Regions from separate parts of the Homo sapiens genome. Here all the other regions are linked to region 1. Evidence: promoter capture Hi-C in 16 types of primary human blood cells and fetal thymus (Javierre and others, 2016). All regions are on one chromosome and are shown on one strand. Each heading gives the region's core, a stretch centred on a gene start or on the middle of the fragment in contact. The rest is flanking DNA. Distances are from core to core; before and after follow the strand shown.

What was found. Contacts are between HindIII fragments. The CHiCAGO score rates a contact against its expected background, and 5 or more counts as called.
Region 2: a fragment that was not itself captured here is called in contact with the fragment with the promoter of SNX22 in region 1 in 3 of 17 cell types (M2 macrophages, naive B cells and M1 macrophages); the score reaches 6.4 in M2 macrophages.
Region 3: a fragment that was not itself captured here is called in contact with the fragment with the promoter of SNX22 in region 1 in 1 of 17 cell types (M2 macrophages); the score reaches 5.0 in M2 macrophages.
Region 4: a fragment that was not itself captured here is called in contact with the fragment with the promoter of SNX22 in region 1 in 6 of 17 cell types (M2 macrophages, naive B cells, M0 macrophages and 3 more); the score reaches 7.1 in M2 macrophages.
Region 5: a fragment that was not itself captured here is called in contact with the fragment with the promoter of SNX22 in region 1 in 1 of 17 cell types (M2 macrophages); the score reaches 6.8 in M2 macrophages.
Region 6: a contact is called between a fragment that was not itself captured here and the fragment with the promoter of SNX22 in region 1, in 1 of 17 cell types (M2 macrophages). The highest score is 6.2, in M2 macrophages.
Region 7: a contact is called between a fragment that was not itself captured here and the fragment with the promoter of SNX22 in region 1, in 1 of 17 cell types (M2 macrophages). The highest score is 6.2, in M2 macrophages.

The regions. Positions count from the first base shown.
Region 1 is chr15:64,149,850-64,153,298 of GRCh38, reverse strand. It overlaps SNX22 (sorting nexin 22), which reads right to left and starts at 1,568. Exons shown (of 7, transcript NM_024798.3): 1 at 1,449-1,568; 2 at 973-1,056; 3 at 557-661; 4 at 1-54. The coding sequence starts at 1,523. RefSeq lists silencers at 863-1,242, 1,443-1,882 and an enhancer at 2,800-2,909. The HindIII fragment of the contact is 12,291 bases long and covers 1-3,449 here.
Region 2 is chr15:63,641,502-63,644,950 of GRCh38, reverse strand. HERC1 (HECT and RLD domain containing E3 ubiquitin protein ligase family member 1) reads left to right here. Exons shown (of 78, transcript NM_003922.4): 58 at 1,401-1,547; 59 at 1,893-1,994; 60 at 3,308-3,449. Among named protein-coding and RNA genes, the nearest start is that of USP3-AS1, 42 kb to the right of the region's middle. The HindIII fragment of the contact is 772 bases long and covers 1,261-2,032 here.
Region 3 is chr15:63,662,954-63,666,402 of GRCh38, reverse strand. HERC1 (HECT and RLD domain containing E3 ubiquitin protein ligase family member 1) reads left to right here. Exons shown (of 78, transcript NM_003922.4): 41 at 1-47; 42 at 253-484; 43 at 1,809-1,933; 44 at 3,199-3,419. Among named protein-coding and RNA genes, the nearest start is that of USP3-AS1, 64 kb to the right of the region's middle. RefSeq lists a silencer at 245-415. The HindIII fragment of the contact is 322 bases long and covers 1,420-1,741 here.
Region 4 is chr15:63,679,278-63,682,726 of GRCh38, reverse strand. It overlaps HERC1 (HECT and RLD domain containing E3 ubiquitin protein ligase family member 1), which reads left to right. Exons shown (of 78, transcript NM_003922.4): 35 at 1,951-2,190; 36 at 2,567-2,650. Among named protein-coding and RNA genes, the nearest start is that of USP3-AS1, 80 kb to the right of the region's middle. The HindIII fragment of the contact is 1,578 bases long and covers 907-2,484 here.
Region 5 is chr15:63,699,444-63,702,892 of GRCh38, reverse strand. The region is part of intron 25 of HERC1 (HECT and RLD domain containing E3 ubiquitin protein ligase family member 1); the gene reads left to right. Among named protein-coding and RNA genes, the nearest start is that of USP3-AS1, 100 kb to the right of the region's middle. The HindIII fragment of the contact is 1,177 bases long and covers 987-2,163 here.
Region 6 is chr15:63,729,481-63,732,929 of GRCh38, reverse strand. It overlaps HERC1 (HECT and RLD domain containing E3 ubiquitin protein ligase family member 1), which reads left to right. Exons shown (of 78, transcript NM_003922.4): 14 at 1-6; 15 at 3,281-3,433. Among named protein-coding and RNA genes, the nearest start is that of HERC1, 100 kb to the left of the region's middle. The HindIII fragment of the contact is 7,228 bases long and covers 1-3,449 here.
Region 7 is chr15:63,745,337-63,748,785 of GRCh38, reverse strand. HERC1 (HECT and RLD domain containing E3 ubiquitin protein ligase family member 1) reads left to right here. Exons shown (of 78, transcript NM_003922.4): 11 at 928-1,062; 12 at 1,703-1,868. Among named protein-coding and RNA genes, the nearest start is that of HERC1, 87 kb to the left of the region's middle. The HindIII fragment of the contact is 5,044 bases long and covers 1-3,449 here.

The DNA.
Region 1 (3,449 bases), core at 319-2,818:
TCTCAGGAATTCCAGTAACTCCTTGGGCACCTCCTGGTTCAGGTACAGGATGCCCTGGAGAGGACAGAGGAGACCTGCAATCAGACCCAGCTACTAATTTGCATAGCGCAGTGCCAGTGAAAATGCAGGGCTCTTTGTTCCAAAAAAAGAATTTCACGACAATGACAGCAGAGCGTTGAACCAGGCTCAGGGCCCTTCTGGGCGCTGGGCGCTGTGTGCACAGGTTGTACCCCATGACGCGGCATAGCTTTGCTGTTGGGGGAAGGACCCTCACCCTACATGCCATCAGGAGGGCAGCACAGGACCTCACCATGGAGGGGACAGGACCTGGGTTTCATGGAGCTGGGACTACCTGTGTCCGTTACCTCTTTCAGTCCTTTCAACAAGCCAGAGGGGGGTGTTTGGACCTATATTAGACTCAGAAAATTGATGCTTGAGGTGGTGAATAACATCCCCAAGTTGTGGGTTCCCTCCCTGCCATGCCCCCACACCTCTCTGTCTGGGCCACACCCCTGGCACAGAAGGCCGGGGGGCAACCAACTGTGCTCTCGCATACCTGGATGTAAGCCTCCAAGCCCTGCCGGCGCTGTTCCAACCCTCTGGTCCTCCAGTTGGGCAGGCGTTTCGAGGGGAAGTCGGGCACTTTGTACAGCTTCTTGATCTACTGGAGGTTTACCGCGTGCGATCACAGCATCCCGACTGAGCCCTCAAGCCCTCTTCGCCCCAGCCAGAAGCCCTCCCGCGCCCCCGCCTTCGGGCTCTACTGGGACAGACCCTGGTGAGTGGTGGACCGGCCGAGGGCGAGGAAGGCCCCAACCCACCCACAGAGGCCCGGGGGCTGACCGGCTGCGCAGGGACTGAGGCAGTAATGGGGGTGGCGGAGGCTGGGGCTCGCCCGCCCGCCTCACAGGGCCTGGGCGGGGGCTGGACAGAGGCTGGGCCGGGGCCGGTGGGAGGTCGGCGCCGCCTCACCCGCTTGTGCAGCGCGTGGAACTCGCTGTAGCGCCTTGGCACCGTGTGTCTGCGCCCGCTGCACAGCACCTCCACTCGGAACACCTGGCGGCGCGGGCGGGCAGCGGGTCTGCGCGTGAGGCCCCGCGGGAGGACGCCGCAGCACCTGCGCCTGGCGACGTGCCCACCCTCCCGCTCTCAAAGGCACAAAGCGGCCTTGCGGCGCCGCGGCTGCCCGGGGACTCTCCGCTCCCGCACACCTGGGAGAACCGGCTGGCGGACCTGCCCCTCGGAGCCCTGGGGTCCCTCAAGAGCTCGAACCATGGTCCGCGAGGCTGGCAAATCCAAGCGGCCCCCAAACCCTCGACAAGGTTTCCCCCGACGGTCCAGCCCGCAGCGCTCGTTCACCCAGGCCCGGGCCCCGGGTCCCCACTGAGCGCAGCGCGGGGAAATCCTGCGGGTCCCGGCGCCCCTCCCCATCCAGGGGCCGCGCTCACCATGTGGCTTTTCTCCGGGCTCTGCCTGGGCCCCTCGGCCTCGGGCCCCACCGACGGGATGTGAACTTCCAGCATCCGCGCCCCGGCCCCAGCTGCTCCGCGCGCTCGGCTCGGAGCCCTAACTCTCCCGGAGCGGACTGAGGACCCCGGGGCGGCCGGCTCCGCCCCCTCGGTCCGCAGGCCCCACCCCAGGCCCCGCCCCCAGGCGACCCCGCCCCGGGCGTTCCCTTGCGCCGCGGGTCCTGAGCCTAGAAGATTAGGCGGGACCTGGACGCCGCCCCCGAAGTCTAGTGCGCCCACAGCGCGGGGCAGTGGAGTCAACCGTTTGTCAAACATTGACGGAGCACTCACTGATGCCAGGAACTGGCGAGCGAAAATGTCACCCAACCTGAGTTAAGCGCCTACCAAGGACGGCCTGTGGCTCCAGGCGCGGACGGAGGCGGGGCCCGGGCCTCAGCGCCGGTCCTGGGGCCAACCAGGGACCTGTCTTGGGTTCCTCAGTCCCTTCCCGAGCCTTTCCCTCCTTTCAGCCTGGTCCCTGAAATTGTGATCTGGATTCCCCGGCTGAGGCCACACCTGAGCAAGGCTTGGACCCAGTCCAGCTTTGATGCCCCTTTCCCCAGCATCCACAGGCCCCCCCATTCATTCATTGTTTTCATCCATCCATTCACTCATATCTTCCAACCCTAAGGGGCTCCAGGCTGTTTGTGGGGAAGAGGCAGTTTAGGGACCTAGACTCCGATTTGGACGTCAGACTGCCTGGATTTCAGGAGCTCCGTAGACCTTTGCTCATCTGCAAAATAGGGATAACGTGGCTCCTTCAGGCAAGTGTATAAAGTGAGATGATTTGGCCGGGCGCGGTGGCTCACGCCTGTAATCCCAGCACTTTGGGAGGCCGAGGTAGGCGGATCACCTGAGGTCAGGAGTTCGAGACCAGCCTGACCAACATGGTGAAACCCCGTACCTACTAAAAATACAAAAATCAACCAGGTGTGGTGGCACATGCCTGTAATCCCAGCTACTCAGGAGGCTGAGGCGGGAGAATCACTTGAACCTGAGAGGCGGAGGTTGCAGTGAGCCGAGATCAAACCATTGCACTCCAGACTGGGCAACAGCAAGACTCTGTCTTAAAAAAAAAAAAAAGTGAGATGATTCATGTTAGGCCCTTAACAGAAGCATTGAGCAGCAGCTTGACTGTGGGCTTCTCCTGGATGACTAGGATAAGTGGGCACAGGGCAGTGGATGGGAAGAGAGACTTTGGGGGGTGGCACCGGGTTGCTCTTGTCCACCCCTCCGGGCAGGTTCTTCCTGGATATGTGGCAGGATTTTGATCCAGAACTCTCTCAGGCCATGTGCTGGAAAGGACCTCTGCTCCCACCTCTCAGCCCTGCACCCTTCAGCTGTCGGAGAGCTGCTATCAGCAGCACCATGGCAGGTCCTCTACTCCACTGACTTCCCCCACAAAGGCCCCGTGACATGCAGAGAGGCGAGGCCCTGCCTTCCAAAGCTCATACGTAGTGGGAGGTCTTGGGGTGGGCAGGAGGAAGCAGAGTGCCTGTCTTCGGGGCTGGGGTTGAGGGGACTCACCCCTCCCCTGCTTCTGCAGAGACGCCTCTGAGCTGGAGCAAAAAACCTCCATCCCCAGCCCTGCCCCCAGAGAAGGGCTGAGATGACGACCCCAAAATGGGGCAAACAGGTCTCACCAATATCATGTCCCACATTCTCTTTTTCCAAATTGCATCACACAAGGACCACAGAATCAGGAAGCTGAAACTTCCCAGATTCTAGTGGGGTCCCCTAGAAGAAAAGCAGCCCAGAGTGAGGAGAAGTGCTGTGCTTTCATTTCCTCCCTACGGCCCCATCATTCAGGGACCCAGCTTTCCCTGGCCTACAGGGCCTCCCCAACTCCCACTGTCCAGGGAGGCCTCTCCTGGGATCCTCAGACTTCTTGGTCCTCATCCTAATGACTGTCTGCCCCTCTGTCTGTGAGTCTCCATTTTT
Region 2 (3,449 bases), core at 397-2,896, 510 kb after region 1:
AAGTATATGACATCAGAGTCATTCTCCCTTGGTTACTAAAAAAGTCATTACTATATCCCAAAGGGCAAGATCCATTGGGAAATATAAGTAATTGTCATCCTGAATTAGCTTAATTTTTTATAAATCAGAGATACCATAATTGCTTGGTAAAATGAGATATTCTATACATATTAAGTGGTGACTGTTACTGTGATAGTGGATATAATTGATACTACAGATAGACGAGTCATAAGTTGTTAGTACATTAAAATAGAAACTCCATGGGAGCACATCCATCCAAAGAATCTCCAACTGATGCCAGAATCCTTGCTATGAAGAATGATTTATTTATATTAAACAGAAGTTACAAATGTATATATTTATAGAGAGCCCTCTAGGCGAGTAACATAAATTCATGAAGCTAGGGTTAGAAGGTTTGGAGAGGGTAAAAAGCAAAAACAGAAAAAAAAAACAAAGAAGCTTACATGCTTTATATAAAGGCACACAGCTGATTGTCAGTTTCTAGAATTAAGAGCCTGTTGTTACCAGATTGTTTTATTTTTTCTATAGATGCTAAGAATCCAATGTTTAAGTAAAATCTCCCAATATTAAACATTGGCACCTAACTTAAAATTGTTTAAAACACTGAGTGGCCAGTCAGATCGCATCTCTGAGCTACCAGTTTGTACATTCTGTTGCCTTCCTTTTGCTCATGATACCCTTGGAAGAAATACACTTTACATCATCTTTGGGTAGTGAATACATATAGTATTATGTTGTCATAACTAAAAGGAAGAAGGAGCTTAAGGATGGGGAGAAAGGGTGGAGAGGGAGGGAAGGAGTAGCCAACTCACTAATAGGAGAATATCACAGCAGTGGAGGTGGGAGTACTACAGATAGGTCTGGTTTACTCTTTGTGCTGGAGGGCAGCCCTATAGACAGGCCTTACCTATGTCACTTCTAAAGCTTGCAGAACAAATGTGTGACAGACAGAACCATTAGCCAACAAAAAGAGGAATCTATTTATATAGAGTCAGCATGTGCAGTTCACAAATGTTAGGGGATAAAAATGAAAATTACATGAAGTGAAAATTTAAAAATCAAAACACTGGTTAAAAAGTAGTCAGTATTTTCCTGTCTCTGAGGGATAATTAGAACTTTGAGATGTTATTTCTGTAGTTTGAAGAGTAGAAAACTAGTTTAGAAATATATTTTTTAAAAAAGATGAAAGCTTCAACAAAGGGAATCAGATTGATATTTTATTACTGATTCAGTCAAGCTTACTATCCTTTATGAGAGAAATTATCTCTCCCCCTTGCCAATTTTATTCTGAAATATAAAATTTCCAAGAGTGAATGATAAATCTTGAACTTATATAATTTATCTTTATTTTAATGCATGTTAAAAATAATGAATTTCAGGATGGATATAGGAAATCATCAGGAGCCAAGTGTGTTTATCAGCTGCGGGGACACATCACTCCTGTTCGGACTGTTGCCTTTAGTTCTGATGGGTTGGCCCTGGTGTCTGGTGGACTAGGTGGGCTCATGAACATTTGGTCTTTAAGGGTAAGAGCATAGATTTTATTTTTATGTTAAGGAATATTTTGACACTAACTTAAACACATGTGATAAAAATTAACCAATTGTAGAAACATTTTATATAGTAATCTCTTGAATACTGAGGAAACTTCTTTCAGAATCCTCTGCCCTTACATTTTTCTTACTGATGATAAGTGTTTTTAAAATCAGCTGTGTCCTAGAAAATTTTGTAGTAGGTATGTGATTGGACGTTGCTGAATTTAGCTAAAATGTAGACTTTAGAATATGTTTTTGTCAATGTGAAATAGAAATTTAAATGTAAATTATACCTACAGTTCAATGGTGTGTATTGGTAAATATATCTCATTTTAGGATGGCTCTGTCTTGCAAACTGTTGTGATAGGCTCTGGAGCTATTCAGACCACAGTATGGATTCCAGAAGTTGGAGTAGCTGCTTGCTCAAATAGATCAAAGGTAATATTGTAGTTATATCAAATGATAGGGTGTAAGCTTGTAAGGAACTTTAGAAATCATAGTCTAACCACCCCACTTTATGGAGGAGAAACCTGATGTCCAGAGGGATTACTACTTGTCCAAAACAGTGCAACTATTTAGTAGCAGAAGGAGAATTAGAACCTAAGTCTCCTGATTTATAGTCTAGTGTTTTTTCTACTACACCCCATACTTTGGTGACAGTGCTTAGATATTGAACAATTTCATTTCCATTGGAAGTGATAAAGTAGATTTTGACTTTCTGCCATGATTTTTGACAGTAGCACTAAACTATCTCAAGGCCAGGTGCAGTGGCTCATGCCTGTAATCCCAGCACTTTGGGGAGGCTGAGGTGGGCAGATTGCTCAAGGTCCTGAGTTCAAGACCAGCTTGGCCAACATGGTGAAACCCCATCTCTACTAAAAATACAAAAATTAGCCAGGCGTGGTGGCACATGCCTATAGTCTCAGCTACTTGGAAGGCTGAGGCGGGAGAATTGGTTGAACCCAGGAGGCAGAGGTTGCAGTGAGCCGAGACTGCGCCATTGTACTCCAACCTGGGTGACAGAGTGAGAGCCCATCCCAAAGGAAAAAAAAACTCTCTCAAACAATTTTTCCTTGAAAAGGAGAAGCATTGCAAAGACATTTAACTAAGTATACAAAATATATCTTGGCTTTCAAATTTAATATTCTAGTAAAACTGCTGGTCCCCTGCTGTGAAGTAATTCTATGATATAACATTATTCCCTACAGTATTATTTTTCATACCCTTAAAGATTAGAGCCGATGTGCTGATTTGATTTACATTTTATATGGTTAAATGATGTTAAAATAAGCTGTAAACCTTCATGAAAGGTTCTACTGCAAGTAAAATGTAGAATCAGACCCTAGGCAGTAGTGGCCTGTGTAGAATAAACCACAGAGCCAGAGTTAAAGCAGTGCTACCTCTTTTGCAGCTATCCTTGTAGTCATGTCAGACATGACTTTTGAAATATAGTAGATGCCTTATTCTGCAGGTTCTGAAGAAATAGTTAATTATTGACATTTTTTCCTTAAAAAGTACCAGCTAATCAGAGGTAGTTCACAAATTTTATTATTTCTCATTATTTTTTACTTAGACAAAATTTAGGATATTTTGAAGTTCCATAGGCATTAAAAGCATAGCCTTTTTGGATATAAAATATCCAAAAAGCAAAGATGTCCCAGTTACTAGAAGGAATTTCGCAGATTAAATGGTGATAGCATTATTTTTTATTTAAACAAATTTATTATGTGGCATGATTTATTTTCAACCAGGATGTTTTGGTCGTGAATTGTACAGCAGAATGGGCAGCTGCCAATCATGTTTTGGCAACCTGTAGGACAGCATTGAAACAGCAGGGTGTTCTGGGATTGAACATGGCTCCCTGCATGAGAGCATTTTTGGAGCGGCTCCCCA
Region 3 (3,449 bases), core at 331-2,830, 490 kb after region 1:
AATGGGGTTCTCTCTTCGGCAGATTGCCAAAGCCATGGAAGCTACAGGTAGGATAAGTTTTTATATATCAGTGTATACAGATATGAGAAGTCCTAGCTTATTAAAGACAACATAACTTTTAAGAGGCTATGAAACTTGGTAAGATTTTTAACACTATATTTTGTTACAAGAGCATCATAGCAAACACTCTTATAACATAAAGACCTAATTCTTTGCCCAAAGTCAGCATCAGACTGTTTTTCCCCTGTATAGGTGCTAGGGGAGAGGCTGATGCCCAGAATATCACTGTCCTTGCCATGTGGATGATAGAGCACCCTGGGCATGAGGATGAAGAGGAGCCCCAGTCGGGCAGCACAGCAGACTCTAGGCCTGGAGCAGCCGTTCTAGGCAGTGGCGGGAAGTCAAATGATCCCTGTTATTTGCAGTCACCTGGAGACATACCATCAGCTGATGCTGCTGAAATGGAGGAAGGTTTTAGTGAAAGGTGAAATTCCAGTTTCTGTACTTTTGTTCCATGTGTTATAAATTTCAAAGCCCCATTTATTATATATCCCGTCATAAATGCTTCTAATTGTATGTAAAGTTGATAAATATAGTTATATGAAAAGATGGGCATTTTAGTTACAAGTTTATATTTCTGTGAAGGGTAAAAGTGACATGACAAGTTTTGATTTGAGTAGGTGTTTTCATGCCAGAAGAAATTTCATAATTTTTGTGTAAAATTGTACTGAAAAAGGAAACAAGTTTATTTTGAAGTAAACATGCTAATAAAATAATTTTATCTCGTACAAGTGATATAAAATCGAGTATTCATTTTAATATTGGACATTGATTTAATGTATTTGATAGAATTGAACTTTTTTTTTTCTGAGACGGAGTCTCGCTCTGTCGCCAGGCTGGAGTGCAGTGGCGCGATATCGGCTCACTGCAGCAACCTCCGCCTCCCCGGTTCAAGCAGTTCCCTGCCTCAGCCTCCCAAGTAGCTGGGACTATAGGCATGTGCCACCATGCCCGGCTCATTTTTTGTATTTTTAGTAGAGACAGGGTTTCACCATGTTGGCCAGGACGGTCTCGAACTCCAGACTTCGTGATCCACCCACCTTGGTCTTCCAAAGTGCTGGGATTACAGGCATGAGCCACCGTTCCTGGCCTAGAATTGAACTTTTAAGTCTTCTCTGTGTAATATTTATATTTTCATCTCTTCTATAGTTTTTAATATCTAGTAGAAGATGCCCCTTTAAGTGTAAAAAGATTGCTGTGATAATGCCTATCCTAAAATGAGATGTATAGAATATCTTACAAATTCTCCCTAAAATCTTTTTTCCTTCATCACTTCTTATGACTTTAAATCTTTATTTTTCATTTTAACTATGGAGCCATATAGTAACCAAGGCTTGTGTCCTAGATGGCATGCAAGCTTTTTCCAACAAGCTCAGTGAATATTTTCATAACGTATTTCAAAATACCTGTTTTTCCTAGGCAAGAATTCTCAATCATTTCAAATTTTAAGTATTTAATCTTTTAGGATTTAGTTAAGGTCATATTTGATCTCATTTAAATTTGAGCTTCATTAAACATCATTTTGTTGTTGGAAGAATTCAAAATCAGACAAAGTTATTGCTCAGGTCACAGGAAATGTTATATGCATAATTGAACTGTTCAAGGGATAAAGATGTGTTTCAAATTTTATCATAAACATATTTTATTCTCAATGAGAATAAAGTAGTACTACAAGTAAGCTTACACCTATGCTTTCTTTCCATAATGGTTTCAAAAACTTTGTGTTGCTTTCTCACTTGCACTTGTAGCCCTGATAATTTGGATCATACAGAGAATGCAGCTTCTGGAAGTGGACCATCAGCTAGAGGTCGCTCAGCGGTAACAAGAAGACACAAGTTTGACTTAGCTGCTCGCACACTGCTAGCAAGAGCAGGTAATTTTATGTTCCGTATCCTTTTCTTTGTGAAAGATCTTATTTTGAAAGCAATGTAAAGGCACATTAAAGAAGATTCAAACTAATGATACTAAGTGCTCAGTCCCTCCACATTAACAGAACAGCTATTTGGATATCATTTTCTATGCATTTACATAATTTTATTTAAATCGTAGCATACATTCATAGGCTTATTTTTAAGTTTCCCTGGGTGCAGAAGTCTATACTGGCCACTTGTAGATTTTGAGAAATTATATAAATGCTCTTCCTTCTGCTCTCAGTCAATTATAATTTAAGAAGTGATGATGCATGTTTAATGTTTAGCATCAGTGGTAAGAAGGAGCTGGAAAGGGCACTGTGCCAAAAAAGTAGGCCCTGGCTTTTCTGATGTACTGCTCTGTGGTTGTTAGGGCTTCACTGCTAGATAAGGACCAGATTCCCTCATTACATTAGTAAATTCTAGGATTACGTTCTGGGCATGTAAAATATAAATTATAGGGAATATATTTTCCAAACCAAAAACTTGAATATGTGATTTGTCAAAACAGAATTTGATCACTGAAATACTATAACATGAGTAATGATTCAGTAATTTACAGGAACAGTGAGAGAACTGTATATTTCTCATATAATTAAGGTAACTGATTTTTTTTAAAACCTAAAAGAATAGTAATAGCCAATATTTATTGAAGTTTTTTTCTATATGATTAACATTATATCAGTGGCTCATGCCTATAATCCCAGCACTTTGGGAGGTGGAGGCAGGAGAAATCACTTGAGGCTAGGAGTTTGAGACCAGCCTGGGCCACATAGCAAGACCCTGTCTTTACAAAAAAATTAAAAAACGGTTAGCTGGGTATGGTGGCATGTGCCTGTAGTCCTAGCTACTCAGAGGCTGAGACAGGAGGATGTCTTGAGCCCAGGGGTTCAGGGTTACAGTGAGCTGGGATTGTGCCATTGCACTCCAGCTTGAGTGACAGATCCAGATCCTGTCTCTAAAAACAGCAACAAAAACATTATAAAGCATCGCATGGATTCTCTTACTTAAACCTATCAATAACCCAGTGAGATATGAGTGCTATTATTATCCCCTTTTGCAAGAGAGGAAACACACGTGATAGGTATAATTTGATGTTTTATGGTCTGAGATCCAATAAGACAACTGAGATAGGTTCTCACCTACATGTATGGCAGTTAAGAACTGGCGAAATATTCAGAATTATTTTATGCATGCAAATAAAATGCCTTTTTTGTTTTGTTCTGAGCGGGATTATACCGCTCTGTGCAGGCCCACAGGAATCAAAGTCGGAGAGAAGGAATATCTTTGCAGCAAGACCCAGGGGCGTTGTATGACTTTAATTTAGATGAGGAATTGGAAATTGATCTTGATGATGAGGCGATGGAAGCTATGTTTGGACAAGACCTGACCAGTGACAATGATATTCTGGGAATGTGGATCCCAGAGGTACTGGATTGGCCTACCTGGGTGTGTGTGACTGCAGCGGGGGCTGCTCTG
Region 4 (3,449 bases), core at 446-2,945, 470 kb after region 1:
ATTTACAAGGTAAATTGTGGCAGGGGGAGAACCTGCTGTAGCAATAGCAAAAGCTCAGCTTAAGAAAATAGCTGGAGTAGTTCCTTTCTATTCTTGTTTGTTTGTTTTTGTATATTTTGTAGAGATGGGGTTCTTGCTTTCTTGCCCAAGGTAGTCTCAAACTCCTGGCTTCAAGCAGTCCTCCCTCCTTAGCCTCCCAAAGTGCTAAGATTACAGGTGTGAGCCCCTGCACCCACACTCAAAGCTGTCAGGGGTTTTTGAACCCTTTCCCCTCCCACTGGAGGAGAGAGCAACTACAAGCTAATTTTTCTACTCTGGCTCATCTAAAGCCCACTTGTGGGAATATTTGGGCCCTTTCTCCTCAGGAAAGAAGTTGTTCCTGGAAGAAAGAACAGCACAGTTTTTACCTGAGCTGCTCTTTTTTCCTAACTTTAGCTAGCAAGGCCAAGAGCGTCTGGGGTAGCAAACCAACTCTCTTGTGATTGGATTTATCTTAAAAATTGATAGGTAACTTTTGCCCCTCACAACAGATAGCAGTCCACCTTCTGTTTCATACTATGTGTAACTCCATAGCCACCTAGGTACCAGAGTTTTATCTTTTCCTTTCGTCTCTTTCTTTTTCCCCAGCAATATTTAACTATATTCTAATGCATCAGGGTTGTTCTAGTGAATCTCATTGCTGCCACTGCTAAGTCATGAGTCCCCAAGACCACCCTCACATTCAGAGATTCACTAGAAGGACTCGTCAGACTCCACACGTTGATACACTCATGACGGAGACTTATATTATAATGATGCGGTAAGGATATACACCCAGTTAATAAGGGAAGGACACAGGTGAGGTATAGAAGAATCCTGTAGGCTTCCTTCTGTTCTCTCCCTGCCATGAGCACAAGTGCACAAGCTTTCCCCAGCAAGAAAAATAACATGTGTGTGATGTTTCTAGAGAACCCCATTAGAGATTCAGAACCCAAGGTTTTTACTGGGGGCTGGTCACGTAGACACCTTCAACCTGACATGTACCAACATTTCATACTCCCAGAAGGAGAGCAGGTATTCAGCATAAACCACATTGTGTGTTTAAATGTTCTAGGTCAGTGAGCCACCTTTATCACGTAGGGGAAGTTTTTTTTTTTTTAAATCAGTGTAAGAAACTTTACCAGTCAAATTCCCAGGTCCTAGCCAAAGGCCAGTGTTGCAAGCATGCCTTTTTGAAAATAGTAATAGTCACACTAGGTGTAGTGGCTGATGCCTATAATCCCAACACTTTGGGAGGCCGAGGTGGGAGGATTGCTTGAGGCCAGGAGTTCAAGACCAGACTGTGTAACATAACAAGACCTCATCTCTACAAAAAATAACTAGCCAGGCATGATGGTGTACACCTGTAGTCCTAGTTACTCAGGAGACTGAGGCAGGAGAATTGCTTGAGCCCAGGAATTTGACGCTTCAGTGAGCCATGATCATGCTACTGTACTCCAGCCTGGGAAACAGAGTGAGACCCCATCTCTTTAGAAAATTAAAAACAAAACAAAACAAAACAAAACAAAACAATACACCTAGTCTCAGGCTTAATATATTAACTCTTTTTCTAAACAGAGGTATATGCAAGAGAGTAGTTAAAATCTATATGTAAAGAATTAAAGTTTTCATTAATTTCTGGACTAAACATACTTCCTCAGCTTCATTATTAAGTTGTAAGTTAGAATTGCTTATTTTAAATACTATAGATATTCAAAGGTTATTCTAAATGCCCTGCAAGATAAAGAATGTTTTAAAATCTTTCTAAATTGATGCGATTATTTTCGTGTTATTTTTATTTATGCTGAAAATAACATGTTTCCATAAATGCATTAGTATTATTTATAAACATATTTTCAGTATTGGTTAATGCAGTTAATAGTATATAAATAGATTTTTTGAGTATTAATGAATATCCCACTTTTATTTTAGTTTTATATTGTGAAGGAAAACAGAGGTAATGAAGGCACGTGTGTTGGAGTTTCTCGCTGGCCAGTACATGACTTTAATCACCGCACTACCTCGGATATGTGGCTCTATAGGGCCTACAGTGGTAACCTCTATCACAATGGAGAACAGACTCTCACATTGTCCAGCTTTACTCAAGGAGATTTCATTACCTGTGTGTTAGACATGGAAGCCAGGACCATTTCTTTTGGGAAAAATGGAGAGGTACCGACACCCATTCACAAGCATTACATTTTTCTTGTTTCTATTTATAGTCAACTCGGTTATTCAAGTGCCACGTATTCAGTTTATAGATTATCTGCTCGTCTCTCCTTTCTCTCTAATACTTTCTGGTTCTTAAAACATTTATTAACAACAAACAGGAAGATAGTAAAACCCCAATAAGATTTTTGAAACAGATGAACACATTATGATCACTTATTATATGTAGAATTTTCTCGGTTAGCAAGGTTAATTGAGAATTTGATCTAGTAACTTTTGTTCTGTCTCATAAAAGCTTTCAATTCTAATGTGGTTAGATATTGTGAATTAAAAAAATTTCTATTTCCTTTTTCTTTTCCTCACTGCTGCCACACTGTAGGAACCCAAATTAGCTTTTGAAGATGTGGATGCAGCAGAGTTGTACCCATGTGTGATGTTCTATAGTAGCAATCCAGGGGAAAAGGTAATGAAGTCTCAAACCTTTATTTAAGAATATTTGTTATTTTATTGTTTAGCATCAGATAGAGTTTATAAATATAATAAGCTATTTCTTCTGCCATTAAAAGTACTTGACTTAGGTAATCCATTCTTCTAGAAGAAGGTTACTTTCAGAAATTGACTTTACGATATATTAATATTAAGGCACTATTTCATGTTCTGGCAATTTGAATACAGTGAGTCAACTTTCAAACGTGCAGTCACAAGAACTACAAGACCTAGTTTAGGGATAATCTAATTCACTGGCAATTATGGGTATGAGAGAGAAATCTAGAAATAATTTTAAATGTAATAAGATGCTATCAGCTGAATAATAGAAGTTGTAGTCATCATGAGGAAACTACCTTTCATTCAGCTGGGGGAATTTTCAGGTGTTGTAGATGGTGTGAATTTGAACTTCATGACAACAGTATTAATAGGATACCCTCCATTGTAAACTTTCTCTTTCACCTCATCCAAAACCCAGGCAGAGAAAACCTTTGTGATCTCCCTGTGCTGGTGGGTAGATTTTTTTTCCCTACTCCATCCTTTCACTTGCGGATGCATAGTACAGCTTAAGTCAAGTCTCAAGAATTTCTAGCCATTATGTAGTAGAAGCTTTCAGGTTTTATCATGTATAATATTTCCATAATGAAATTGCTGGACCTGATATATTCTAACCAAGAAAATTACCTTTTATTCTATGTTTTTAAAAATACATATTTTTAATGTCAAGGAATTATAATTTAAGGCTAGCTGAGAACTGTTTCTTGGACAGCCAGGAC
Region 5 (3,449 bases), core at 326-2,825, 450 kb after region 1:
ACCTCGTGATCCCCCCACCTTGGTCTCCCAAAGTACTGGGATTACAGGCGTGAGCCACCATGCCCGGCCAGCTAAATTTACTTCTAAAAGAGGTGGATGAAACATTTCTTCTGCTTAGCACCTCAGAGGCAATATGAAATTTGTATTTAGTAAACATTTATAAACTACTTACTATATGAGCATTGTTCTAAGCCCTTCACAAATATTATAGTAACTCATTTAATTTTCATAACAGCCTGATAAAATTCTTGACAAAACCTGTAAAAATATGTTAGTAATTTGGTACTTTGATAAAACTTAAAAGATTTGCTATGGTTGTACGATTGTTTACAGAAAGACAATACGTTTTTGCAGATACTTGATTTTAGTTTTCATATTTAAGCTGAAGATGATACAGTGAAAAGTTGTGGGATATCAAAACAGCAACTTAAGCAGCATCAGAAATCTTATTAGTTAAAATACTGTGTGGTTTGATTATCGCCCCTAATCTTTAAATATTTTGATAGGGTTTTATTGCTAAAATAATACTGGAAACATTTATCAACATGTGTGTTTCATGGTATAACATGTATGGGTGAAATGCTATTTTGTCTGTGCATTTCAAATTAGATGATATAAAGAAAAGCGAATGTAAATGTTTCTCTCCTGTATCAAATTTCTCCTTTTGTTTTCTGATTCTCGTGTGGTAGTGTATTTACTCCTTTTTGGCCAGTTGAGCCCCAGAAAAAAGAAGAGCTTCAAGCAAGTACATGATGGCATGTTTAATTTTTTTCCCCTTTTAGCTTGCCTACATATTTTATGGTTTATAAAGTATGTATTGCAGCTCTGCCATGTTCATTTTGAAAATTCCATTTAAAAACCAAACTTGTAAGGACAAGTAAACAATCTCAAAAATTTTTTGTTGGATTTTGTATTTTCTTTATATAGTAGGTGATTCTGAATTAGTATTAAGAATTGGGCTTAGTCTCAATTGTTATGTAGAAGCTTTTAATGCCCTTTTCAGATATAATATTTCCTGTATTCAGATAGTACAGAGCAAACCAAAGTTATCAGATTGTTATACTTAAAAAAAAAATTAAAGTTCTTTCCTCTCCCATTTCCATATTATAAATTTTTGTGTTTTAAGTCTTTTTGATGTCAAACTAAATATTTTGATGGAAATTATTTATCCTGATGCTTCCACATAGTGTGTTTCCTGTTCTTAATATTTTATTTATACAAAGTTACATTTGGGTTAATTTCATCCGTTAGGGCTCAGCAGACTACAGCTAGGAGGCCAAGACTGACCTGGCATCTATTTTTATCAGGTTTTATTGGAACACAGCCACACTCATTTATTTAAGTGGTTGCTTTCATACTACAACAGCAGAGTTGTGTAGTTGTCACAGAGACCTTATGGTCTGCAAAGCCTAAAATATTTACTGTCTGGCCCTTTACAGAAAAAGTTTGCCAACCCCTGCTTTAAATTGCAGAAGATTTAATTTTGGGCTTCGTCAGCCATTCCATAGAATATTTTGGTTTATATGAAGACAGTTCAGTATTGGTAGATTCATAATTGAACCTTTATATAGGCAGGCAATTGAAATTTCCATCAGTGATTTGTGAGTTGGTTAATAATGAATATGTAAGACTACCTCCCATAAAATTAAGGAATTAATGTCATTATGTGACAAACCAATTTTTTTGTGCCTCTGTTTCCTCATTTGTGAAAATTGGACTAAATAATCTTTAAGGTCTCTTTTTCTTCTGCAGTTCTAATATCAGTTCCTTGCGCATTTTATATTCATTTTGAAAAGTAATTTATAAGTATTAGTAACTAGAAGAACCTTTTATTCTAAAATTTTAATATTTAAAAAAAAACACCCCCCCAAAAAACAAGTTCAATGTGAGGAGCCAGAATCTATCATTTGTAAGTTAAGGCTAAATACAGATTCTGAATTTGAGGTGCTTTAAGGAAATGAAAAAAGAATGTATATATTTTTTACATTAGCCTCTACTTTATTCTTTAAATATTTTTAACTTAATACATTATGCATCTATGATATTATTCTTTGAATTTTCAGTTTTTTCTGTGTCACATGAAAGAATATTCAGGTCTACAATTTGGGGAAATTTTTAGGTAGGTTGTTATTTTTCATGTTCAGCAAGAATGAAAATTAAGCTTTTTTTTTTTTTTTTTTTTTTGAGGCAGGGTCTCGCCCTGTCACCCAGGCTGGAGTGCAGTGGTGAAAATTAAGCCTTTTTAAATCTTAATAATTCTTTCTAAAACACAGAAGGCAGATAAACCATATATTCTTTGCCATTCTACATTATTTTACTAGGATACATATAAATTATTTCATAGTTACTTTGTAATATTAGCTCCGTGTTACGAATTTTGAAATCCTAGGGTTTAATTGACACCAGTATAGTAATTCAAAAATAAGATTCTACATTGAATATTGTTGTTAGTTTGTTTTCTCTGTGGGCATTAGTGTTTAAGTAGTTATCTTCCCAAACTTTTCTATCTAGTTACATAACTGATATAATTTTTATGCATATTTAATTGGGTACCTTAAGATACTTCCCTAATTGAGAAATGTAGTATATTCACATAATAGGATGTTATACAGCAATCAAATAAATGAACCATGGTTACACTTAGTAATGTGGATGAATATTAGCAATATTATATTGAATGAAAGAGTGTGTCCAAAAAGGTGATATAAAATGATACTCTTTTTTAAAAGTCAACGACAACTAAAACCATTATTCATCTTAGGAATACATTAAAACAATAAAAACAAGGAAATAATAAACCCAGGCCTCAGGATAATAAAACTTTAGGTAGCAAGAGATGGGCTGGAGGAGGAGCAAATAGATAGAAGTTACTGTTAGTTTTCTAGTTCTTGTGTTCACAGATATTTATTATAAATATGTGATTTCAAAATTGGGCCATGCATGGACCAATGATGAGAGTATGTCATGACGAAAGGATTGTAGTTAATCAAATTTATGTATCTGAGACCAGTTAAATTAAAGATTTGTAAGAATTGGACATTTATATATTTATTTAAAGCTAATATTGACAAATGACTTGGACAGTTGCTGTTATGTTCAAACATGTTAACATTTTGCTGTCTAATGTAAAGATTTTAGCTTAAAAAATACCCACTGGCAAATCTAATGGTATTATATTTAGCAACTATTTTGATGCCACTTGATAATTTTATATAGGTATCATTTTACAGTAAATCTCATATTCTTGTCTGTGAAACTTTGCTTCCTCTATATAGGAGTTTCACAACCTGCAGTAAATATGCACATGACACAGTCAGTGAGAATGTTCCTTATATTAATGAAACCCAAAGGGTGATGTTTGTGTCTGCTTTTTGTGTAAGTTTACTTGCCCTTCTATATTCATTTTTTGGTAATGTTTCATTGCAGATATGTAGACACTTTGTTCAGTC
Region 6 (3,449 bases), core at 557-3,056, 420 kb after region 1:
TATACAGTAAGTTGTTCTTTCATTGTAGTAAAAAAAGAATAAAGGGGTAGGGATCTCTTTAGTCAAGGTATTTTGACATTTAAACACCTATGATAGAAATCAAACTCTAGACCCCTCTCCCCCAAGGGGAAAAACATGTCAGGGTTTCTGAAATATTGTGGGGACAAAATAACATGTAATTGAGAATTTCAAAGGGATTTATTTTAGAATTTTACCAGATTTTTCTGATATTGTAGAATAATAAACAGAATAAAATAGGAACATTTTTAGAGAGAAGAATAATGAGCAAGGGATTAACCTTGCCAGTTATAATCTTATAATGAAACAATGTACTTGGAACTGAATGAGAATAGGTTGGTCAGTAGGATAGAGGACAGTGGACCCTATAGCTTTCCCTGTATTAGTATGCCATTAATTCTAAATCTCTAGTGTTTCTTAAATTCATCTTTTTTTCCTGCCATTTCTTTGAGTTCTAAGCCAGATCATTATGATTCAGTGCTAATAATGTTATAGCTATTGTCACTATTGCTGGTTTCTTCTCAGCATCTTACTGCTGGAATAACTTTGTATTAAATAACTTCTTTATATTAAAGAATACAACTTCTTTGTATTAAATTAAAACCCCTTCAGGCCAGGCGCGGTGTCTTATGCCTGTAATCTCAGCACTTTGGGAGGCCGAGTTGGGTGGATCACCTGAGGTCAGGAGTTTGAGACCAGCCTGGCCGATATGGTGAAACCCCGTCTCTACTAAAAATGCAAAAATTAGCCAGGCGTGGCGGCTGGCATCTATAGTCCCAGCTACTCAGGAGGCCGAGGTGGGAGAGTTGCTTGAACCAGGGAGCAGAGGCTGAAGTGAGCTGAGGTCGCACCACTGCACTCCAGCCTGGGTGACAGAGCGAGACCCCATCTCAAAACAACACCACCACCACCACCACCCTTCAGACCCTTTATCATCGGCTCACACACCATTCTTATCTGAAATCATCCTTTTCCAGAATTGTACATTGTACACGTATTTCCTGTTGTTTTTCTCTACCAATCTGTGATGTAAGACTTGACTATTCTAGGAAACCTTGCCCAAATAACCCCATCTAGCCAGAGATGCATATAGCTACACATCTCTGTACTCATCAGCACTTACAGGATCAGAGTGTACTGTGTAACTTAACTTTGAATTGTTTGTGTATCAATTAATATTGTTTCCTGTGGCTCTTCAGGGTCTGGTCTACGTACTCTTTTTCTTCCAATACAAGTCTTAGTGCTCTATCCCGCCCACATTGAAAGGCTGATCACTAAGTCAGAGTGAACATTCTTCCTACAAAATTCTTTTCTTTCAGATTTAAAAATGTAAATTTAATCTGATGTTAAGGAGTAATGGCTGCAAATGGATAAGAACAATATTGTGTATATAGCCATTTGTTAATGACCAAAAATTTTTCCCAAAGTTATAAGGAATGTTACAACAAAGTTGAAAGGAATATTAGGGCTAAGGCAGATTTATATATTATATGGAAATGGAAATAAAATACTAACTGCTTTTGGGTAGAAATAATAAATTATTGTCTCTTTCTGATGTGATTTAAACCAAATTTGTTCTAAGATTTTAAAATAATGGTCCTAATTAACAACTTAGAGCAAGGGCCCTACAGTGTTCTCATATTGTCTTGTATATTGTACACATAAACCAAATTTTCTGCCTAAAGATATTCAGCACATGATTATTTACAGGAAAAAAAGTTGGAAATAACAGAAACATCTAAAAATAGAGGAGTGGTTAAGTAATTTATGGTACATGTGTTCAATGGAATATTTTATCATATTTTATATACACATGGTTTATGAAAATGTGTAAAACATTTATGATTCCATTGGAAAAGAGCAGACCAAAAATAGAATATGCAGTACAATATTATGAAAAATATTTTAAAAGGACAAAGGAAAGAAATACACCAAAAAATATTATAGTAGCAGTCACTTTCTTTGAGTAGTTGTTTAAATGGTGCTTTTAACTTTTTAAAATAGAGTTTTGATATTTTCTAAATATACAAAGCATCTCTTTTTAAAAAATATTTTTAACTTGAAGTAATTTAAAACTCACAGAGGAGTTATAGGAATCATTCAAAGAATTCCCCTGTGCTCTTCAGCCAAATTTGTTCTCTCTCTCTAAATCATTTGAGAGTAAATTGCAGATGGCTGGCTGCCGCTAAGTATTTAAGCATATATTAAGTATGTATTTTTAAAAAACCAGGACATTTTCTTATGTAACAAGAGAATAATTATTGAATTCACAAAATTTAACATTGATACAGAACTGTTATTTAATATATAGTCTACATTTACATTTCTACAGTTGCCCCTATAATGTCCTTTATAGCAGTTTCTGACCCCAGCCCTTCCTCTTCATGATCTTGTCCAGAATCACACATTGTATTTAGTTGTCATATCTCTTTTTTAATTTTAATTTTAATTTTATTAGAGACAGGCTTTCTGTTGCCCAGGCTGGAGTGCAGTGGCACCATCATAGCTCACTACAGCTTCGAACTCCTGGGCTCAAGTGGTCCTCCCACCTCAGCCTCCCAAGTAGCTGGGACTAGAGGTGTGCACCACCATGCTCAGCTAATTAAAAAAAAAAATTTTTTTAGAGGTGAAGTCTTGCTGTGTTGCCCATGCTGGTCTTGAACTCCTGACCTCAGGCAGTCTTTCCACCTCGGCCTCCCAAAGTGTTGGGACTATAGGTGTGAGCTACCGCACCCAGCTGCTTTTTTTTTTTTAATGGAAAAAACAAATAGAAGTAGCTTGATGAATTTTACCATCTAATAGCTAGTATCATAAGGGTTATAGCAAATACTTAAAAATTGGTAATGGGAGAAAGGATATAATGCTTTTTTTTTTTTTTTTTTTTTGAGACATAGTTTCACTCTTGTCGCCCAGGCTGGAGTGCAATGGCGTGATCTTGGCTCACTGCAACCTCTGCCTCCTGGGGTTCAAGCAATTCTCCTGCCTCAGCCTCCCCGGTAGCTGGGATTACAGGCACCCACCACCACGCCTAGCTAATTTTTGTATTTTTTAGTAGAGACCAGGGTTTCACCATGTTGGCCAGGCTGGTCTCAACCTCCTGACTTCAGGTGATGTACCTGCCTCGGACTCCCAAAGTGCTGGGATTACAGGTGTGAGTCACCGCACCCAGCCCATATAATGCTGCTTAAATCAGATTTATGGTAGGTTGTTACTTTCAGTTTCAAGCACTTCAAATATAAACTTCCTTTGTGTGTCATTTTAGGATCAAGCATTTGGAGAGCTAGAAAAGAATAGTGATAAATTTCTACTTGGAACATCATCATCAGAAAACAGTCAGCCTGCTCATCTTCATGAACTGCTATGTTCACTACAGAAACAGCTGCTGGCATTTTGCCATATCAATAACATTAGTGAGGTATGCGATTATTTGT
Region 7 (3,449 bases), core at 338-2,837, 400 kb after region 1:
GGCTAATTTATAGCTTAGAATGTATTTTATTTGCATTCTATGCCTTTGACTCAGGGTTTTAAAATGATACTCTAACCAATTAAAAATATTTATCAATAGTTATTCCTCTAACACAAAAGCCAAAATAAATAAGTTGAATATAAATAATTTGCTATTAGCATTACATCTCCAACTTCCCACTTCATATGTAGATAGTTGGGTCCCAAGAACTGAAAAGTATTAACAAGAAATTTCAGGATTTTGTCTTTTAATAGATTTCAGTATATCACTCTATAGAGTCAGGATATTTTTCTTAATATGAAATATATATTTTCTGGACTCTTAGAACCAGAGGGGCTTTAGTAGATCATGTGACTCAGCCCTCTGCTTTCAGGTGAGTGGACATCCAAACCTTCCAAAACAGGTGGTGGTTGTATGTTTTCTTCTTAAAGATGGCAAATTCTTGGTTTTCCTTAGTTGCTAAAATGAAAGGTTTTATCACTTTCATAATCAGTAATGTCTTCTTTGTATCTTGTTGAACTCATTCAGCTTTAATGTATATATGTATATATATATTTTTTGAGATGGAGTCTCACTCTGTCGCCCAGGCTGGAGTGCAGTGATACAGTCTCTGCTCACTGCAGTGTCTGCTTCCCAGGTTCAAGCGATTCCCCTGCCTTAGCCTCCTGGGTAACTGGGACTACAGGCATATACCACCATGCCCGACTAATTTTTATGTTTTTAGTAGAGATGGGTTTTCACCATGTTGGCCAGGCTGGTCTTGAACTCCTCACCTCAGGTAATCTGCATTCCTTGGCCTCCCAAAGTGCTAGGATTACAGGCATGAGCCACCGTGCCCAGCCAATATATGTTTTAATTTTCGTTTTTGATCGTGCATAAAAATTTCATTTTAAGACTGTTTTATTATTTTCTTATGTGTCCTTCTAGACAAGTTGTTGCATGGCACCGACCTTATTGTGTAGATCTTGAAGAGAGTACCTTCTCACACCTGCGTTCTTTTCTTGAGAGATACTGTGATAAAATAAACAGTGAGATTCCCCCACTCCCTTTCCCTTCATCAAGGTATGTTATATGTATGTTTTGTATCTTTGTGTGTGTGTGTGCGCGCGCGTGTGTGCATGTGTATAAATTATTCCTTTTGAGTTTTGACTTACTGTTCTTTCTTGTTTGGTTTCCCAAATTATATGAAACTTTTTTATAATCTAGAAAAGAGCTAAACTTAGATACTTGTTGATAATAACTTCTAGGAAAAAGTTACTTGTAATTTCACAAATCATGTTTTAAAAATTACTGTTGTTCATGACTTGACAAAATTTTTTTTTTTTTAAGATGGTGTCTTGCTCTGTCGCCCAGGCTAGAGTGCAGTGGCATGATCTCAGTTCACTGCAGCCTCTGCCTCCCAGGTTCAAGTGATTCTCTTGCCTCAGCCTTCTGAGTAGCTGGGATTACAGGCACCCGCCATCATGCCCAGCTAATTTTTGTATTTTTAGTAGAGGCGGGGTTTTGCCATGTTGGCCAGGCTAGTCTCTAACTCCTGACTTCAGGTGATCCACCCACCTCCGCCTCCCAAAGTGCTGGGATTACAGGCATGAGCCACCGCACCTAGCCAACAAAATTTTTAAAGATATAAAAATGTTACCCAAACTGGATAGCACAGGCACTTTTATGATCCGAGAATTCATAGACGTTTATTTGGTTTCAGAGAACACCACAGTTTTCTCAAGCTGTGCCTGAAGCTACTTTCAAATCACCTTGCTCTTGCACTTGCGGGAGGGGTAGCTACCAGCATTCTCGGGAGGCAGGCAGGTCCACTTCGAAATTTGCTCTTCAGACTGATGGACTCAACTGTCCCAGATGAAATCCAAGAGGTAAGAGAATAGGACTTGTGAATCTGTATCTCAAACCACGTCTTTCTCTGAGATTTTAGCTATACAATATATTCAACTGTACATTGGACAATTTCAATTGGATGTTGTTTCCCTTACTCCTGTTTTCTTGGTGAGAGTATTTTTGGTTAACTCATCCTTGAGACAAAGGTCAGATGCCATCTCTGATAAACTTTTTATTCCTGCTCTCCCACCAGATTTGGTTTTTCTTGTATATGTTCTCATTACATCACATTGTATTCTAGTTGCTTATTTACAAACATGTCACTCTTTTTTCACCAGAAGATGAGTTCCTGAGGGCAAGGACCTAGGGCATGGCTTGGTCAGTAGTAGTAACTGAATAAGTGGACTGGATCATCTACTAGAACTGTAACCAGAGCTAAGGAGAGAAAGGTCAGCTTAAGGAGGAAGAAGTGGCCTAGAATAGAATACTGGTTATAAATAAGGAGAGTATAGTTTAAAAAAACATATTTAGTATTATAATACAATGTTAAATTTGGGGGAAACTTAAAAATATCTATATATTTGTAATACAAAATACAGAAAATAAACTCTTTTGGTAGGTAATAATAGAAAGTACAGTAATTTTTAAACCAGTGCACTCCTAAATTATCAGTGGATCAAAGAAAGAAATTACAAGATAAATTTAATACTTAAGATTAATGAAAACAAAAACTTAACATACCAAAACTCATGAAATGCAGCTAAAGCTGTGCTTGGAGGAAAATTTATAGCTTATAAACATCTATATTAAAAAAAATATATATCGAATCAGTAATTTAACCTTCTACCTTAAGAAATTAGAAAAAGAAGAGTCAACTCAACCCAAAGCAAGTAGAAAAAAGGAACTAATGTAGATTAGAGTGAAATTAAAAAAATAAAGAACAGAAAAACAATTGAGGAGATCCAGGAAACTAAATGTTTGTTCTTTGAAAAGACAAAATCAACAAACCTCTGGCTGGACTGACCAAGAAAAATGAGAGAGGACTTAAATTACTCAAATCAGGAATGAAAGACAAGATATTACTACTGACCCTACAGAAATCAAAAGGGAAATTGAGAGGCAGAGCAAGATGGTGGAATAGAAGGCTCCACTGATCATTCCCCCTGCCAAGGACACCACTTTAACAACTCTACACAGAAAAAACCACCTTCATAAGAACCAAAAATCAGGTGAGCACTTACAGTACCTAGTTTTAACTTCATATCACTGAAAGAGGCACTGAAGAGATAGAAAAAACAGTCCTGAATAGGCAGTGCCACTCCTCCCCCTGCAGCAGTGGCAGTATGGTGCAGAGAGTGTCTCTGGGTGCTTGGGGAGGGAGAACACAACAATTGTGAGGCATTGAACTCAATGCTATCCTGTTAGAGCAGAAAGGAGAACTGGACCAAACTCAGCTGACACCTGTGCACAGAGGGAGCATTTAAACCAACCCTAGCCAGAGGGGAACTGCTGATCCCAGTGATCCAAATTTGAATTCCTGCAAGGCTTGCCACTGAGGGCTATAGTGCTCTGTGTCTCCAAGTAAACTTGAAAGGCAGTCTAGGCCAAAAGGACTGCAA